Linked DNA regions of Homo sapiens: all the other regions are linked to region 2. The links are contacts of gene promoters, found by promoter capture Hi-C in blood cells and fetal thymus (Javierre and others, 2016). All regions are on one chromosome and are shown on one strand. Each heading gives the region's core, a stretch centred on a gene start or on the middle of the fragment in contact. The rest is flanking DNA. Distances are from core to core; before and after follow the strand shown. Region 1 has its middle 14 kb from the start of PTPN23. Region 2 holds the start of TMIE (transmembrane inner ear). Region 3 overlaps KLHL18 (kelch like family member 18).

What was found. The method cuts DNA at HindIII sites, captures the fragments that hold promoters and counts their contacts. A CHiCAGO score of 5 or more calls a contact.
Region 1: a fragment that was not itself captured here is called in contact with the fragment with the promoter of TMIE in region 2 in 1 of 17 cell types (endothelial precursors); the score reaches 8.5 in endothelial precursors.
Region 3: a fragment that was not itself captured here is called in contact with the fragment with the promoter of TMIE in region 2 in 1 of 17 cell types (total B cells); the score reaches 5.9 in total B cells.

Annotation. Positions count from the first base shown.
Region 1 is chr3:47,364,658-47,368,825 of GRCh38, reverse strand. No RefSeq gene overlaps it. Among named protein-coding and RNA genes, the nearest start is that of PTPN23, 14 kb to the left of the region's middle. The HindIII fragment of the contact is 1,655 bases long and covers 1,923-3,577 here.
Region 2 is chr3:46,700,093-46,704,141 of GRCh38, reverse strand. It overlaps TMIE (transmembrane inner ear), which reads right to left and starts at 2,750. Exons shown (of 4, transcript NM_147196.3): 1 at 2,562-2,750. The coding sequence starts at 2,654. The HindIII fragment of the contact is 54,343 bases long and covers 1-4,049 here.
Region 3 is chr3:47,342,576-47,346,446 of GRCh38, reverse strand. KLHL18 (kelch like family member 18) reads right to left here. Exons shown (of 10, transcript NM_025010.5): 9 at 3,617-3,728; 10 at 1-2,892. The coding sequence ends at 2,506. Among named protein-coding and RNA genes, the nearest start is that of PTPN23, 37 kb to the left of the region's middle. The HindIII fragment of the contact is 8,623 bases long and covers 1-3,871 here.

The DNA.
Region 1 (4,168 bases), core at 1,501-4,000, 660 kb before region 2:
TCAGCCTGAGCAACATAGTGATACCCTGTTTCTACCAAAAAATTAAAAAGATTAGCTGGGTGTGGTGGTGTATGCCTGTAGTCCCAGCTACTCAGGAAGCTGAGCAGAAGGATTGCTTGAGCCTGGGAGGTTGAGGCTACAATGAGCTAGGATTTTGCCACTGTACTCCAGCCTTGGTAACAGAGTGTCTGTCTCAAAAGAAAGAGAGAGAGAGAGAGAGAGAGAGAAGAAAGGAAACAAAGACAGAGAAGAAGAGGAAAAAGAAGAAGGAGGAGGAGGAAAGAAAGAGAAAGAAAAAAGGAAGGAAGGCAGGCAGGCAGGCAGGAAGGCAGGCAGGCAGGCCAGGCATGGTGGCTCATGCCTATAATCCCAGCACTTTGGGAGGCCGAGGTGGGCGGATCACCCAAGGTCAGGAATTCAAGACCAGGCTGCCCAACATGGCGAAACCCTGTCTCTACTAAAAATACAAAAAAACTAGCCAGGTGTTGTGGCAGGCACCTGTAATCCCAGCTACTCGGGAGGCTGAGGCAGGAGAATCGCTTGAACCCAGGAGGTGGAGGTTGCAGTGAGCCGAGATCGCACCACTGCACTCCAGCCTGGACAACCAGAGCAAAACTCCGTCTCAAAAACAAAAAAAAAAAAAAAAAAAAAAAAAGAAGAAGAAGAAGAGAGGGAGGGGAGGGAAGGAAGAAAGAAAGAGAAAGTGTTCTGTGTTCCCACCAAAAGTTTTGAGATGTATTCTAATTGGACCAGCTAATCACATGCATACCCTGAACCACATTAATGGAGGGATGAGAGGCACTGGTAGACTTCGGCTAAGTCTAGTTACTCTAAGTTCCACTCCTAGAACCATGCAGATCCTCAAAAGGAAATTGAGGCCCTATTCGAAGGGAAAAAAGGTAGGGGAAATAGATGCCGAAGAGGCCAAGCATCAGATGGCCCCTACAGTTTCCTATGATTTTCCTGCCAGTGGATTGTCCAGACATAGTTCAATGTTTCCCAAGCCGCCTCCGTCATGCTAGGCTGTAGCTGTTGTCAGGAGGCCTTTCCCATTGACATGTCTCCCTCTGAGAGTGCAATCTCTGATTCTGGCTCTGAGGCCACAAAAACATTCTGGTTGTCTTGTTTGTCGCAGCCTTTCAAGAGCCGGGAACTGAAACCTTGTTGCTCCTCTCCTCCAGGTAAATCTCCCCAGTTTCCCACTATTCTACATAAGACTTGGCTGTGTAATTTGAACACGTTTCCTAACTTTTGTTGTTATTGTTGTTGTTGAGACAGAGTCTCACTCTGTCATCTAGGCTGGAGTGCAGTGGCGTGATCTCGGCTCACTACAACTTCCGCCTCCCAGGTTCAAGCGATTCTCATGCCTCAGCCTGCTGAGTAGCTGGGATTACAGGCGCACACCACTATGCCCAGCTAATTTTTGTATTTGTAGTAGAGATGGGGTTTCACCATGTTGGCCAGGCTGGTCTCGACCTCCTGACCTCAGGTGATCTGCCCGCCTTGGCCTCCCAAAGTGCTAGGATTAGAGGCATGAGCCACCACACCCGGTCAACATTTTTTTTTCTTCTTTTTTTTTTTTAAGAGACAAGATCTTCCTGTCACCCAGGATGGAGTGCAGTGGTGCAATCATAGTTCACTGGAGCCTTGAACTCCTGGGCTCAAATAATCCTCCCACCTCAGCATCCTGAGTAACTGGGACTACAGGTGCATGCCACCACCCTTGGCTAATTTTTTATTTTTTTGTAGAGATGGGGTCTTGCTATGTTGCCCAGGCTGGTCTTGAACTCCTGGGCTCAAGCAATCCGCCTCAGCCTCCCAAAGTGTTGAGATTGCAGGAATGAGCCACTACACCCAGCCAGTTTCCTAACTTGTACAGGCCTCATTTTCCTCATCTGTCAATGCTGGGGGCAATCTAAGCTTCTCAAACTGATGGGGAGTCACATATTGGGAGTGCAGAGTCCCTGAACAAACACGCTACAGCATCTAAAGGCTTGATTTTACTGGAGTTTCTGCCCCACCGTGGAAATATTAATACAAAATGTTTCAATGTTAAAACAGTTATGGACAACTCAACAATAAAAAAACATAATAATTTGGCTGAGCACAATGGCTTACACCTGTAATCCCAGAACTTTGGGAGGCCGAGGCAGATGGATCACTTGAGGTCAGGGGTTTGAAACTAGCCTGACCAACACGGTGAAACCCAGTCTCTACTAAAAATACAAAAATTAGCTGGTGTGGTAGCAGGCGCTTGCAATCCCAACTACTCGGGAGGCTGAGGCAGGAGAATTGTGTGAACCCAGGAGGTGGAGGTTGAAGTGAGCTGGAATTGCACCACTGCACTCCAGCTTGGGCGAAGCGAGACTGTCTCAAAAAAATAATAGTAATAATAATAATTTTAAAATGTGCAAAGGACTTGAATAGGCATTTCTCAAAGATGATATGTAAATGGACAATAAGCACAAGAAAAGATATTCAACATCATTAGCCATTAGGAAAATGCAAATCAAAACCACAGTGAAATATCATTTCATACACACTAGGATGGCTGTAATAAAAAAAGAGGGGCAGACTGGGCATGGTGGCTCACAGCTGTAATCCTAGCAGTTTGGGGGCCAAGACAGGAGGATCATGTGAGCCCAGGAGTTCAAGACCAGCTTGGGCAACATAGTGAGATCCCATCTCTACAAAAAATTTTAATTAAAAAAAAATTAGCCAGGTGTCATGACATGCACCTGTAGTCCCATCTACTCGAGAGGCTGAGGTGGAGGATCGCTTGAACCTGGGAGTTCAAGGCTGCAATGAGTCATGATCAAGCCACTGCGCTCCAGCCTGGGCAACAGAGTCTGTCTCAGAAAAAAAAAGCGAGAGAGACAAATGTTGGCAAGGGTATGGGAATATTGGAACCCTCCCAGATTGCTGGCGGAAATGTAAAATGACACAGCCTCTGTGGGAAACAGTTTGGCAGTTCCTCAAAAAGTTAAACATAGAGTTACCATATAACCCAGAAATTCTACTCCTAGCTATACATTTCTGGATAATTGAAAACATATCTCCATACAAAAACTCATATATCAATATTCATAGCAGCATTATTCATAATAGCCAAAACATGGAAACAACCTAAATGGCTATAAACTGATGAATGAATAAATAAAATGTGGACTATTCATACCACAGAATACAGTTCAGCCATAAAAAGGAATGAAGTACTAACACACGGCAGAACATAGATGAGCCTTGAAAATACCGAAGTAAGTGTAAGAAGCCAGACACCAAATGCCACAGATTAACACGATTCCATTTACATGAAATGTCCTAAATAGGCAAATCCATAAAGGCAGAGTGGATTGGTTGCCAGGGATTGAGAGGAGGGGAACATGGGAGAATGACTGCTAATGGTACAAAGTTTCTTTTTGGGGCTGATGACAATGTTCTGAATTGTACACTTTAAAAGGGCGTATTTTATGGTACATAAACTTTATCTCAATAAAAAGAGTTCTATTGAACATTTTAAAAAGCTGGCTAGGGGCCTCATTTTCCTCATCTGTCAATGGTGGGGACAATCTAAGCTTCTCAAACTGACGGCGGGTCATGTATTGGGAGTACACAGTCCCTGAACAAACACATCCGCAGCATCTAAAGGGTTGATTTTACTGGAGTTTCTGCCCCACCATGGAAATATTAATACAAAATATTTCTTTTTTTTTTTTTTGAGACAGAGTCTCGGATCTGTCACCCAGGCTAGAGTGCAGTGGGGCAATCTTGGCTCGCTGCAACCTCCGCCTCCCGGGTTCTCGCCATTCTCCTGCCTCAGACTCCCGAGTAGCTGGGACTGCAGGCGCCCTGCCACCACGCCCGGCTAATTTTTTGTATTTTTAGTAGAGACGGGGTTTCTCCATGTTAGCCAGGATGGTCTCAATCTCCTGACCTCGTGATCCGCCCTCCTTGGCCTCCCAAAGTGGTGGGATTACAGGCGTGAGCCACCGCGCCCGGCCCAATACAAAATATTTCAATGTTAAAACATTTATAGACAACTCAACATAAAAAATATAATAATTTGGCCAGGTGCAGTGGTTCACTCCTGTAATCCCAGCACTTTGGGAGGCCGAGGCGGGCAGATCACCTGAGGTCAGGGGTTTGAGACCAGCCTGGCGAACATGGT
Region 2 (4,049 bases), core at 1,501-4,000:
GGGTGTCTAGAGGACACAGCTCTACCCTGGGTGTCTAGGGGACACAGTCCTGCCTAGGTCTGAAGGGACATGGACCCACACTGTAGAATTTGAGTAAGATCTGTCCCTGACCAGAGATGGATATGACCCCATGTCTGTCACTTAGTGTGGCTGAGGGACAGGGAGAGGGGTCTGTCCTCTGAGGGAGAGAGAACCCTGGGGCATATGAGCGAGATGTTGTGCACTGATTACTAAATAAGGACAGACACGAGAAGTCCCTTCTGGTTCTCTGAGAAGAAAGGCAACCTGTAGTTCGACCATCCAGCCCTTCTTCCCCCAGGTCCGTAAACATGGATTAGGCATCTGTCATGAGCCAGGCGCTTCTTCATCTAGTGAATGCCACCCTTCAGCGTGGGTTGCAGAACTCAAGAGAGGATCAGCAACCTGTCCCAGGTAACCCAGAGGATCTGTGGGCTGGGATTGGTACCTGATTCTCAGGCTCTTTTCTCCCTGCCAGGGTGAGCTATTGACAAGAAGACACCATTCCTCAGTACTTTCCCCTGGATATATGTGTGGGGTCAGACATGTACATAAAGTTGGGGAACATGTGTGAGGTTGGGCACATGTGTGGTTGGCATGCATGTGGGTGTGGTCAGGGACATGTCTGTGCCATTAGGGTTAGGGCCCTGATGGTGGCAGCTGCCCTAATTCTAAGGCTCAATGTGTTGGCCCGGCTGGTTGTATGACTGGAAGACTCTGAGGGCCATGGCAAAGTTCTCAGGTTCTGAGCCAAGGCAGCTCACTTCCTACACATTCTTGCCCCAGCCCTGATGTGGGTGGAGCTGGGCCTACTCTTACTGATAGGGGTCTTGGGTGGACGGCAGCAGATGACAGCTGGTCTTCTCCTCATGTTGGGCCCTGCTGGGGTCTGATTTCTGGAGCATGGAGGTCCCCACCTCCTTCAGAGCCTCACGGGCTGATGGAGGGTGATGGTGACCCACACAGGGCTAAGGTGGGTGGTGACATGGCCCCCAGCCCTGCCCATGTCTTTGGTGCTTCCGTGAGGGAAGAGCTAAGGCCTTGCTCAGACTGTAGGCAGATGTCAGGCAGATGGCCTCCAAATGCAATTTCCCTAGAACTGGGAAAAGATGAGTTCCTGGGGGTGAGGGAGAAGAGTCCTTGGCTGAGAACTGACTTAACCCCCACCCCCAGCTTTCTGTCTGCACCTAGGCCAGCTCAGTTTCTGTACCCAGGCCTCAGGGCAGCCTGTGAGGGGCCCAAGTACGCCTCACAGGGCTCAAGCCAGCATAGCTCCCCTTACAGGGACACTGGAGCTGACACCTGACTCTAGCCCAGCCTTGTGGTCATGCCCTCTGGGCAACAGCAGGGACAGGCTACATCTGGGTCCAGGGCTCTGTCCCTATGTCCCCATCAAACCCTCCAGTTCAGGGCTGTGTCCCCCCATAACAACTTCCCCATGGCTCTGTCCTCTCTATCCCACACTGTCCCCAAGCCCCCACCCCTCAGGACTTCCCTGGGCACCTCTCACTGCCTCTTGCATTTCTGTTTTCCTGCTCCCTCTGGTCCGCCCCTGCCTGCACAGCCTCCATCCCCTGCTCCTCCCTGGCCCTGGCTCCTGGGCCTTCTCCCTCTGGCCTCACAATTCAGAACTCTAGGTCTGGTCTGCCAGCTCCCTCGTTGGCTCCCCTTTCAGGCTCCGCAGGAGTGGGGTACAAGGGGGTTAGGGAGGCTACAGATGGCCCCACCCTTCCTGGCCCCAGCCAGGCTCTCCACCAGGGCTCTCCCCCAGCTTCTGTGCTATCTCAGCAGCTCCTCCCACCTCTCCCACTGTGTGCCTGCTCCCAATTTACCCTCCTTCCAAACCAGAACTCATCATGACTTGTCCCTGAGCAGAAACCTTCTAAAGCTCCCGGTTATCACCAGGACCAAGTCAGACTTCCCAGTCCCTAGGTCCTGCCCTGCCTGCCCCTCTGGACCTAGTGCTCCACATAGCTTCTCTGTAAAGGGTCTCCTCATCCTGCTGCCCCCACCCTCCAACTTGGAATGCCCTCGTCTCCATCTTAAGGCTATGTCTCCCCCTCCATTAGACAGGGGTCCCTGGAACATCTCTGGAGATAGAGGCTGTTGCCTCCAGAAGACCCTAAATTCAGGGTCTGTTCCATCAGACTAGAGGTCCAGGAAACCCAGGGCTGTGCACCTCCCTGCCAGTGAGACCAAAGGCTGGAGGATGGGGGCCCAGTATCCCCCATCAGTCTGGGCAGGGCTGTGTCCCCAAGTCAGGCTGGGAATCCCTAAGGTCAAGGTGAGTCTCCCCCGTCAGACTAATGTTCCAGAAATCGGGTACTGTGCCCTTCCATCAGACCAGGGACCCTAAGAGTGGGGCTGAGTCTCTCTCACAGCCTGGCAGGGCTTGGGGCAGGGCTGCATCGCCCGGGAGACTGGATCTCTCAGGGCAAGAGTAAGGGATCAAACAAGCTCCGGATCAAAAAGGCGTCCCCTCTCCCCCAGCCCCCTGCCTGGAGGGTGACAGCCTCCCCAGTCCCTCCGTGCCGCGGCCTCACCTCCACCAGCTGCCCGGCAACCCCCGCGAGGCACACCCCGAGTGCGGCGCCGCCCAGCACGCAGAGGGGACCCGCGCCCGGCCACCCCGCCATCTTCGTGCCACCGCGCCGCTTGCGGAGCCCAGGGACGAACGGGCCGGCCGCCGGTCACTGCCCCTGCCAGCCGGCGCTCGGTGGCCACGGGCTTTGGCCACGGGTAGTCAGCGAGCATCATTTATTCATCCTCGGTGTCAGGTTCCCGCGCCGCCCGCCCCCGCCATCGCTGCGGTGGAGGGCCCGCCCCCTCCTTCCCGGGAGATCGGGCCGCAGGCTCCCCCTCCCTGCCCCCACCTTCCGCATCCCCAGGGACACTGAGGTGGGGGTGGGCGGGAGGGAGGACAGGCTGGGGCCAGGTCCCTAATCAACAGGTCCCCCTCCCTTCTGCAAATGGGCCTCAGTTTCTCCATCTGGGACAAGGGGGTGGGACTGGAATCTGCTGATCTAGGAGGCCCTTCCCATTCTGTCATGCTGGATTTGAAAAATATACTGGATTTGAGTTTGGGGGGGGGGCAGAGCGGGCAGGTTGCCATGGTGACAGGCGCTCAGGGATGTCCTGGGCTTTCTGGCTTGGCTTCCTGCCCAGAGGCGGCTCTGGTCACCCTGGACACCAGAGCTGGAGAGCAGGGGATGGTATGGTCAGAGCTGCCAGCCGGCAGTGTTATGGAGGGTTCCAGAAGAAGCCAGCATCTTCAGCCCCACAGGACAGAAGTGGGCTGTCCCTGGAAGGGCTGGAGGACCATTTTCTGACCCTGGCTGCCCTCAATCTCTGCCCCAGCCTGAACACTGACTCTGACTTCAGTCTAAGCCAGGACCCTGACCTCATGCTGAAGTTGACCCACACTGCACTCTGGCCCTGACCCCATGTTGAGCCTTGACAACTGAGGGACAGAGGGAGGTTCTGAGGAGATGTAGAGACCTGGGTGGGGGCTGAAGACTTAGGAAGAGGAGTGGGGAGGCCTGGAGTTGGTAGACTCCCCTTCCCTCCTTTTCTTCCTTCCTTCTATTCTTATTTATCTCCTGCTGCTGAGTGTTAGGAGAAGCAGCCCAGGTGTTGGGCCCCTGGAACCCTTATCACCAGGGGCACTGGTGAAGGCCTGCGCAGGCTGGGGATGGCCCAGCAAGGCCTGCCCTGAGAACCAGGGAGACCCTGTGGCTCCAGAGCCCTGTGAGGTTCTGGCCTGGACATGCCATGAATGGGCAAGGACCACAGCAGGCTGCAGCAGGGAGCGGAGGGCCACCTGCGGTCACCTGCCAGTGTCAGGGCCCGGAGATGACAGCCAGGCAGGAAAACGAGAGCTGTTGGAGAAGGACTGCAGCCCAGGAGACCCATCGAGGAAACGCTCAACAGTGGGAGGTAAAGTCTGGGGACTGAGTGGGCTGGGCCACCCAGTCCTCCCCAGGCATGCCCTGGCCAGGCAAACAGGAACTCTGCTAAAATCCAAATCACTT
Region 3 (3,871 bases), core at 129-2,628, 640 kb before region 2:
CAACACCAAAGAGCCAGACCAGCCATTTACGAATAGCCATTCACCATCGGACTGAGGAACCTACTGGGAGAGTGTGAATATGTTGGTGTTTCCTGACTTGTGCTCAGAGCCCAGATCAAAACACTGGCTTGATCTTACTTTGAAACATCGACCTCAGGTGCAGCAGTGTAAATTCTACACCAGGAGGTGGGATTGGACTCAGGAAGTCCACTACAAGAGCAGCAGGCCATGGTAGAAAATGATCTGCCATACCCAGTGGCAAAATCTGGGCCAGTATCCTAAGGACCCACTCAGTAGCCCACAGACCGATTCTTAATACCTTCACAATCCAGGCTTGTTGGTGCTACTTCAAATTCACAAAAGAAAGGGGCTTATAATAAGACAAGCACTGATACACTCCTAACAGGAAATGCACACCCCACCCACCTTCCGAGTCTACCCCTACAGGCAAACCAGGAAGGAGGGAGAAATGCTGGAGCCCTACCACGAGCCCAGGTTAAACGACATCCGATATCAGATTGTTGAGACGTTAAAAATAAAAATATCATTTTCAAGTGCTTGTAGCAGAGGCCTAGCTCCTAAGTTGTAGGTAACAAAGGTACTTCCCTCTGAATACATGGCGATTGCACACACTGGTAAACCTGACGGTCCTGGGGTGGGGGAGACACCCCAGGCTCCACATTGTGCCTTTCTGAACAGGCTTCCAGGCCACCCCAGGCAGGCAGCAAAGGATAGGAAACCAAGCAGGTGGAGACTGGAGCCCTAAGACTCAGTCTTGGGTTACAGGAATTGAATCTTCTTTTAGTCTCTACTGGAAGAATTTTAGAAAACCAATTTTGGCAGCAGCAGTTGAAGGACAGCCCCACTGCCCAGTGCACTGGCAAGAGAAAATGTCCTCCTCTTTGAGTCCCGCTGTGCTACATTAGGTCCTATCCAGGGAGGAGGAAGCAATATGAAATCTTTCCAAAAGGTAAAGGTCATTTGCCAAGATTAGAGGAAGAAATATAAAATCTGTTCTTTGCAGCAGCAAGAGATTCTTTCGGCCTTTAGTTCTTTATGTCATAAAAGCCAGCTGTGCTTGAATGTAAAGGTCCACCTTGCTGGTCAGTCTGCCCAGGGCTGGAGGGAGGCCAGACTCTTGGGATTGGCGAGTGGATGGAGGAGCAGTGGAATGGCAGAGCAGACAAGGTTACCAGACCAAGCCCGCCCACAGCTGGTAGAAGGAAGCCCTGGTTAGGTTCTAGAGGTGCATATGGTCAACGTGCCCCAGAAGCATCACAATGAGGGAAATCATCCAAGAACGAGATTGATGGGCAAGTGAGAATCTGGCCAGACCTGCTGTTTCCTGCTGGTCAAAAAAGGAAGCAATGTTAGTGAGAGTGGGGAATCTGAATGAGCGCCATGGTGGCAGTAGGAGGTAATCACAGGGGCGCCTGGAGCCCCCAGCCACAGCTAGGAGCCCCCACCAAGAAGAGTGGCAGTAATTCAGCAGATAGCCTAACTCTCTACGCCTATGATTTTAAAAGTCCTCTGATGGTGGGTGAGAAGACAAACCCCATGAGCACCTTACTACAGGCCCAGTCAAGAGTGCACTGATTCCACACACACTGGGGCTCAGAGGGAACCCCCAGCTCAATGCGAGGCCTCAGGACCCTGGGATCCGAATGTGGGGTGGATACCGCCCTTCTCCAGTTAGACGATTTTCCATTTAAACATAGATTTGCCGTTAGTGTCTTTTATGCTTTTTTCTTCTTGCAAAATTTGTTCACATAAAAAAATTATTTTTCTTTCCAGTTTCTTTCAAGTGTTTCTTTGTTTAAATTTCCTTCAGTTTCTTTCAAGTATCTTTTTTTCCCTTCTGTTCTCCTGGACAGATCAAAAGGCCTCACTGAAATCCCAAAATTAGACATGGGGAAAACTTCTCTTCTCCCTGCTTACCCAGCAATGAGGACAGAATCCTTGGTGCCCCACTGTGGAAGAAGGAATGTGCCTGTGTGCAGCCTTCCACTGCTGTGGCCACACCATCTCAGGCAGGGAGAACGCTTGGGTCTGTCCTTTCGTCCCCAGCTACATCCCAGTTTCCAGCAGGCTTGGACACTGCAGCCTCCCCATGGCAAATTGGCCAGACTCGGCTGGAGAGCAAGCAGGCGATGGGGAGCATCAGATGGAAGGCCTTCTGTGAACAGCTGGCCCACAGAGAGGCGGTGGGTAGGAGCTGGGCCTGGATGGAGCCTGTGTTCATGTGGACCAGAAAACAGTTCCATGTCACCAGCTGCAGGATCCAGAGGAGCTTGTGTTCCATGCTGTGCATCTTGATGACCCAAGCCTGAAGGTCACAAGGGTGGCACAGTGGGGGAGGGCTTAAGCACCTGGAAAAACTGTACCTCCGGCGAGCTCACGTTTCGCCATCTCTTCTGGTCCACTGCCTCTCCTGAGGGACTGTTCCTGGAAGGAAGCGCCTATGTCTGTACCAGATCCCTGCCCCACCACATCCCATCCTCTGCCTTAGATGGTGAGGAGAGGGATGCAGCCCACACCGACCCCTCCCTCATGGCACGCCATGGGGGCCATGAATGTCCAGCAGTCTGTCTCTGGGTCATACATCTCCACTGAGCTTAGGTTTGACTGTCCGTCGTAGCCCCCAACAGCGTAGAGGCGCCCACAGCTGGCCACCAGGGAGACCCGGCTCCTGCGCGTGTGCATGGGGACAATCAGGCACCACTGGTCTGCCACAGAGCTGTACATCTCGGCAATGCTGAGGAAGCCAGAGCCATCGTAGCCCCCGCAGACAAACATCTTGCTCCCCAGGGAGGCGGCTCCGTGCCGGCAGCGCTTGTTGAGCATGCCAGCTGCAGGGTGCCAGGTGGCTGTGTGGTGGTTGTAGTGTTCCACCTGCAGTGGGGAGAGAGGCACAGGTACAGGACAGTCAGAGGCAAAGCTCAGTCCATGGAGTGACCGTGCAGGGCACAGCAGCCCCCCATGATGTCAAACTCCTGTGGGAGGTATGGGGACAAGGAGCTCTCCCAGTATTCCCTCTGCTGCAGGCCTGCTCTTTGGTGTATGGGGACAGGGAGAGGTCACCTCACCTAACCCTTTCTGTTTGCATCTAAGGAAACAAAAAGGATGTGCCCAAGGATGCAATGCTAGGTAGTGACAGAACCTGTATGAGAGCTGGGTCTCCTGTAATCTCCAGGGCTCTCCACTGCAGCACTGACTGACTATGGAATGACTAGTAAATGGCTGTTGAGCCTTTTTTACAGAATAAATACAATTTCAAACAAATTATCCAAAAGAATACAACTGTTTGCAAATTTACACTTGGTCTATAACTGAACTTACTTTGGGCAGGAATCTCACAAGTTCTATGTAGTGTTCAACAGACAGTAGAACAGGGTGGTGGCTGCAGATGTGACTACCCTTTGCCCTTCTTTTGTGTACACTGGCTCATTCTCTGGAAGTTCAGAATTTCAGAAGGTGCAGTGGATAGCCTGAAACCTCACTAGATGATACTTTATTCAGCTGTGGCAAGGCTGAAGTTTTTTCAAATAATGATCTTCTAAAATAAATCTCAAAGACAGAAGTAGGTACCCTTATCCCAGGGGGAGCCCAGACTCACACTGCTGAAGATCTGCAAACCATCATGGCCGCCTGACACATATATCCTGCCCTCAAAGACTGTAACCCCAGCAGCACTGCGATTCGAGCTCATCGAGGTCACCACTGTCCATCTTCAGGAAAGAGTCAAAATAGGAGGGGAAGCATGAGATTCAGGGTTCTTGTTCCCTCAAGACAGCCTAGCAGGGTTTAGGTGAACTGTGCTGGCCATCTCTCCATCTCTTATCACCTCTCCCACCACCTCTCTGACAGTTCT